Regions from separate parts of the Homo sapiens genome. Here region 2 is linked to region 1. The links are contacts of gene promoters, found by promoter capture Hi-C in blood cells and fetal thymus (Javierre and others, 2016). All regions are on one chromosome and are shown on one strand. The core of a region is centred on a gene start or on the middle of the fragment in contact, and the rest is flanking DNA. Distances in the headings are between cores, read along the strand shown.

Region 1 (3,417 bases), core at 280-2,779:
TTTTGCCCTTTTGAAAATAAGGTAGATTTCTTCAGATGTGGAAAGTATCAATGGTCAATCCAATAGCTTTTCGTTATTTTATTTTTTTATTTTTGGAGGCAAAGTCTCACTCTGTTACCCTGGCTGGAGTGCAGTAGTGCAATCTGGGCTCATTGCAACATTTGCCTCCTAGGTTCAAGCAAGTCTCCTGCCTCAGCCTCCCGAGTAGCTGGGACTACAGGCGTATGCCACCACGCTTGGCTAATTTTTGTATTTTTAGTAGAGACAGGTTTTGCCATGTTGGCCAGGCTCGTCTCAAACTCCTGACCTCGTGATCCACCTGCCTCGGCCTCCCAGTGCTACCATTACAGGCGGAGCCACCACACCTGGCTCACTTTGTGGCATATTTCTAGAAGTTAAAAAACTCACCTGACAAAAGAGATACTTTGTGGCCAGGCACGGTGGCTCACTCCTGTAATCCCAGCACTTTGGGAGGCTGAAGTGGGTGGATCACTTCACGTCAGGAGTTCGAGACCAGCCTGGCGAAAATGGTAAAACCCCCGTCTCTACTAAAAATACAAAAATTAGCCAGGTGTGGTGGCAGGCACCTGTAATCCCAGCTACTTGGGAGGCTGAGACAGGAGAATTGCTTGAACCTGGGAGGTGGAGGTTTCAGCGAGACGAGATCGTGCCATTGCACTCCAGCCTGGGTGAGGACAGTGAAACTCCATCTCCCAAAAAACAAAAAAAAAAAAAAAAAAGAGAGAGAGAGAGAGAAACTTTATGATTTACTCCATGGAACAAATATCATATAGAACTGTAACATTTAAAAGTCAGATTTCTGTTTCTAAACTTTAGGTTTATACCTCTTGGCAGATGACTAGATGATTCTTTCCCCATTCCAAGAGTAACAGATATTCAGCCAACTTGTGTGTGTGTTTATCACATGTGATTCCACATTTCAGTTTGTTTCTCTATATTTTTTGTATTTTAAATTGGACAAGTATTACTTTTATAATAAGAAAAAAGATAATTACTAAAAATAAATGAGAAATACATATACATGTAGAATTTGCATAGTGTCAAGTAAATGATAAGGGTAGAAAGAGTGCAGAGAAAAAAAGGATGAAAACGAAGGTGGCTGAAGAATGCTTTGTGACGGAGGTGGGATTGAAATGAGCTTTGAAAGGCCGGGTGCAGTGGCTCACACCTGTAATCCCAGTAATTTGGGAGGCTGCGGCGGGCGGATCACCTGAGGTCAGGAGTTTGAGACCAGCCTGGCCAACATGGTGAAACTCCGTCTCTACTAAAAATACAAAAATTAACCAGGTGTGGTGGCAGGCGCCTGTAATCCCAGCTACTCTGGAGGCTGAGGCAGGAGAATCGCTCGAACCTGGGAGGTGGAGGTTGTAGTGAACCGAAATCACGCCACTGCACTCCAGCCTGGGCAACAAAGCGAGACTCCGTCTCAAAAAACAAAACAACAACAAAAAACGAAACACCGAAATGGGCTTTGAAGAATGGAAGGGATGCAGATAAAAGAGAGGAGGGCGCAGAGCGGTTTGGTCGTTCGTTGGACCAGTGTCGGTTCTTCGCTCGCGACTGCGGCTCTTCCTCGGGCAGCGGAAGCAGCGCGGAGGTCGGAGAAGTGGCCTAAAACTTCGGCGTTGGGTGAAAGAAAATGGCCCGAACCAAGCAGACTGCTCGTAAATCCACCGGTGGGAAAGCCCCCCGCAAACAGCTGGCCACGAAAGCTGCCAGGAAAAGCACCCCCTCTACCTGCGGGGTGAAGCCTCATCGCTACAGGCCTGGGACCGTGGCGCTTCGAGAGATTCGTCGTTATCAGAAGTCGACCGAGCTGCTCATCCGGAAGCTGCCCTTCCAGAGGTTGGTGAGGGAGATCGCGCAGGATTTCAACACTGACCTGAGGTTTCAGAGCGCAGCCGTCGGTGCGCTGCAGGAGGCTAGCGAAGCGTACCTGGTGGGTCTGTTGGAAGATACTAACCTGTGTGCCATCCACGCTAAGAGAGTCACCATCATGCCCAAAGACATCCAGTTGGCTCGCCGGATACGGGGAGAGAGAGCTTAAGTGAAGGCAGTTTTTATGGCATTTTGTAGTAAATTCTGTAAAATACTTTGGTTTAATTGGTGACTTTTTTTGTAAGAAATTGTTTATATGTTGCATTTGTACTTAAGTCATTCCATCTTTCACTCAGGATGAATGCGAAAAGTGACTGTTTACAGACCTCAGTGATGTCAGCACTGTTGCTCAGGAGTGACAAGTTGTTAATATGCAAAACGGATGCGTGATATTTCTTGCTTCTCATGATGCATGTTTCTGTATGTTAATGACTTGTTGGGTAGCTATTAAGGTACTAGAATTGATAAATGTGTACAACAGGGTCCTTTTGCAATAAAACTGGTTATGACTTGATCCAAGTGTTTAACAATTGGGGCTGTTAAGTCTGACCATACATCACTGTGATAGAATGTAGGCTTTTTCAAGGGTGAAGATACAAACCTTAACCACAGTGTAACTTATAGTTTCCTTTAAAAAAAAAAAATTAAACCTGGCAGCTATAGAATACAATATGTGCATTTATAATAGCTATTTTATATATTGTAGTGTCAACATTTTCAAATTAAATGTTTTACATTCACAAGTGGTGGGGAGTCTTGTCATTAAGGTGTGTGTAATTTAGAGTCCAGTTGGTTTTCTTCTGACTGCACTTGTTCTCATAGTAGTAAAATGCTATGTGCATTTATACCTTGCATAAATCCTCATTCTACCACATGTTAACTAACCCTCTAGCTGATAATGGAAACACTAACTGGGGGATTTTATTTATAAGGGCTCTAGAAAAAAATATGAGTTATTCACACCAGCATCATCTGTTAACTAATATTCTGAACTAGTGCAGCTTTTCATTGTGTTGTGTGGTTGGTCTCATAACTAGGTTGAGTTTTCTCCTCTGCTAAGAGGAAACAGTACTGAAGTTCTTTTTCTTGTGGCATTTGTATTATAAAAACTTGGTGTAGGGGAGGAGCACAAAGCTCTAGCCCACTGAACCTCTGCCGGTTAAGATGGTGTTAGGTTAGGTTACATCTGGTTACTGTCCTGGGAAAATCATTTTTATAGAGATGGCCTTCCAAGTGGTTTTAAAATTTATCTTATTGAAGTTTTTAGGTCAATTATGTATGTTGACTAAATTTACAAATAAACTTGTTTATCCAAAAAAAAAAAAAGAGAGGAAAAGAATCAGAAATATTGGAGAGTAGAAATGCAACAGAAGAGAACTATAAAGTTTATGTTGGGGGAAAACAATTAGTTTGTCTCAAGTGTAGTATTTACGCAAAGGAGAAAACTTTAGGGATGTAGGGCCCACATTGTAAAGAGCTTGGAATTAGGATTTAAGGAATTTTATACTCTATCCTGCA
Region 2 (3,417 bases), core at 280-2,779, 280 kb before region 1:
GATGCATGCTACCACACCCAGATAATTTTTTTGTATTTTTGGTAGAGACAGGGTTTCACCATATTGCCCAGGCTAGTCTCGAACTCCTGACGTCAAGCAATTAACCATCTTGGCCTCCCAAAGTGCTGGGATTACAGATGTCATCTACCACACCCAGCCTAAATTCTGCATATCTATATTGGAAAAAAAAAAAACCTCAATCCCTACCTCACACCACACACAAAAATTAACTCCATGTGGATCATAGACCTAAAGATAATTGCTAAAACCATGCAACACAGGGAAAAAAATATTTACAAACTTGCCAAAGCAGAAACCATAAAAGAAATAATTGGTAAGTTGCATTTTTATCAAAATGCAAAACTTCTGCTCTTTGAAAGACAAAATTAAGAAAATTAAAAGGCAAGCCACAGGCTGGGAGAAATCATCATAATACATATATCTGACAGAGGACTGGTAGTCAGAATACATACAAAATTCTCACAACTGGCCGGGCACAGTGGCTTACGCCTGTAATCCCAGCACTTTGGGAGGCTGAGGCAGGAGGATCACTTGAGTTCAGGAGTTCAAGACCAGCCTGGCCAACATGATGAAACCCCATCTCTACCAAAAATACAAAAAAATTAGCCAGCCAAGGTGGCACGTGCCTGTCGTCCCAGCTACTCTGGAGGCTGAGGTGGGAGGATGGCTTGAGCCCAGGAGGCAAAGGATGCAGAGAGCCAAGATTGCACCACTGCACTCCAGCCTGGGTGACAGAGCAAGACTCCATCTCAAAAAAAAAAAAAAAAAAAAAAAAAAAAAAAAAAAAAAAAAAAACTCTTACAACTTAGTAATAAAAAGACAACCTGACTGGCTGCCCAAACCAAACTTGGTTTCCCAGAATTGGCTGACAGAGCAAAAGCTTGTTTAATTTGAATCTGAAAAGGACACACAGTAACCCCTCACTCTTTGAGGAGGCTAGTGAGAGGAGTCAGATCTGGTGTTACGGGGTGAATTGTATTGTTTCCAACCCTCTCCATCCTTGCCCAAAATTCATGTGCTGAAGCCCTGACCTGCAGTACCTCGGAATGTAACTGTGTTTGGAGATAGGGCCTTTAAAGAGGTAATTAAGTTAAAATGAGGGGAAAACCCTTATCTTATACAAGTGATGTCCTTATAAGAAAAGGAAATTTGGACAGGTACAGAGCAAAAGACCATGTGAAGACACCGAGAAAACGGCTGTTTCCAAGCCAAGGAGAGAGGCCTCAGAAAAAACCAACCTTGATCTCAGACTTCTGGCCTCCAGCACTAATCTCCCAAGAAACAAACTCTTAGAACTGGCCTAGGAATATCTACGAAAACAATGGTAAAAATTAAAAAAAAAAAATTGTCACATGAGTTACCTGTCTCCTGCTGCAATCTGGTGTCCAAGGTGAAATACCATTGTATGGTGTACTAAGCAAGCCACAGGGTTTCCAGCCCATGCACAGAGTCATTCCGTCTCAGCCAGGTGAACTCCACATCATTTCCATCATAGCCCTCTGATAAAGGAAATGGAGCCCTGGTCAGTGCAAGGACATTGCAGATTGAACTAGTCTAGAAAATGCTATAATAGCCCGGCACGGTGGCTCATGCCTGTAATCCCAGCACTTTGGGAGGCTGAGGCGGGTAGATCACGAGGTCAGGAGATTGAGACCATCCTGACTAACATGGTGAAACTCCGTCTCTACTAAAAATACAAAAAATTAGCTGGGTGTGGTGGCGGGCGCCTGTAGTCCTAGCTACTCAGGAGGCTGAGGTAGGAGAATGGCGTGAACCCGGGAGGCAGAACATGCAGTGAGCAGAGATCGCACCACTGCACTCCAGCCTGGGCAACAGAGTGAGACTCCGTCTCAAAAAAAAAAAGAAAGAAAATGCTATAATATGTAAATAGCATGAGTTATGTCTTCGTGGTGACAAGTCCAAGGACAATCCCTGCAAAACTTGGCATGATTTCTCAAGTGCAATTGCAATGTCTGTTCAAAATGAAGTGACCTGCTGGGACTGTTTGCCGTCAATTGAGAACTGGTCCTATGCTAGATATTGTGTAGATCAGGTAAATGATAAGTCTTTAGAAGTGGCCTCCCTCATTATTTAAATGTTATTATTGAACAAATATCCATGAACACACAAAGCTTATGTTAGATACTGCCTTTCAAGACTGTCTAATAGCTCTCGTGGTATTTTCAGGGAACAGAATGTAGAACTGAGCTGTTCATATTTTCACATTGGCATAAACGCAAAACTAAAACAAAAAACCTGCACTCAGCTGCTTTCTTAAAGTCTGTAACATGTGTGTTAAATCTCAAAACAGTTTAATTAATACAGTTGATAATAGTAACAACAGTTACCCTTTGAACACTTATGTTAAGTACTTTATACATTATGTCACTAATGTTCTTGCAAACTTGCAAGGAAGCCATTTCTTCATTTCTAAGATGGACATGTCTTTACATTTTCTGAAGTTGAGATGGACTTTACAGTTGATTGTATCTATCTATCTATCTATCTATATAGATTTATATATATATATAGTAGAGCTTATATTTTTCCTAAAATGCTACTATCCAATAAATTCTGTTCCATAGGAAAAAAATGACAACCCATTTTCTTAAAATGAGTGAAAGATTTGAACAGACACTTTTTATTTTTTTTTTGAGACAGAGTCTTGCTGTGTCCCCTAGGCTGGAGTGCAGTGGTGTATCTCGGCTCATGGCAACCTCCGCCTCCCAGTGAATAGATGCTTTTACCAAAGAAGATATATGAATGATCAATCAGCACATGGAAAGATGCTCAAAATCATTAGTCATCAGAGAAACGCAAATTAAAACCACAATGAAATATCACTATCCACAATTAGAATAGCTGAAATTCATACCATTTTTCATTAAAAGCACCACACCTAAACCAGGTCCAGGGCGGAAAAAGTACAAAATAAAATTGGAAAAAAAAAAAGAAAAGGAAGAAAAATAAGCTTGGAACAGCTTGTTGCCCCAGAAAGTAAAAACATTATCAAAGGCTAATGATGGGACACATCAAATAACAAAAAATTCCATAAGCCAGCTTGAAGAGGGTCCTTTTGGTCAAAGATAAGATGATTTGAACATCAAGAAGAATTATTATTTCAATTGATTAAAATAAATAAAAATATTACTCTGGGGGCTGAGGTGAGAAGATTGCTTAAGCCCAGGAGATTGAGGCTACAGTGAGTTGTGTTCGCACCACTGCACTCCAGCCTGGGTGACAGAGTGAGACCCTGTCTCAAGTAGATAAACAAATATATAAATAATAAAAAGTCATAATTTTTTTAAAGAGGAAAGAACAAACACGCCATAGTGAATGAATCGAGCAAAGGTTGCTGTGCACCAACTCATTACTCCAAAAACTGATAATTAAGGG

What was found. The method cuts DNA at HindIII sites, captures the fragments that hold promoters and counts their contacts. A CHiCAGO score of 5 or more calls a contact.
Region 2: a contact is called between a fragment that was not itself captured here and the fragment with the promoter of H3-5 in region 1, in 1 of 17 cell types (non-activated CD4 T cells). The highest score is 6.9, in non-activated CD4 T cells.

The regions. Positions count from the first base shown.
Region 1 is chr12:31,790,410-31,793,826 of GRCh38, reverse strand. H3-5 (H3.5 histone) reads left to right here and starts at 1,529. Exons shown (of 1, transcript NM_001013699.3): 1 at 1,529-2,642. The coding sequence starts at 1,661. The coding sequence ends at 2,068. The HindIII fragment of the contact is 13,966 bases long and covers 1-3,417 here.
Region 2 is chr12:32,070,841-32,074,257 of GRCh38, reverse strand. No RefSeq gene overlaps it. Among named protein-coding and RNA genes, the nearest start is that of BICD1, 34 kb to the left of the region's middle. The HindIII fragment of the contact is 1,252 bases long and covers 904-2,155 here.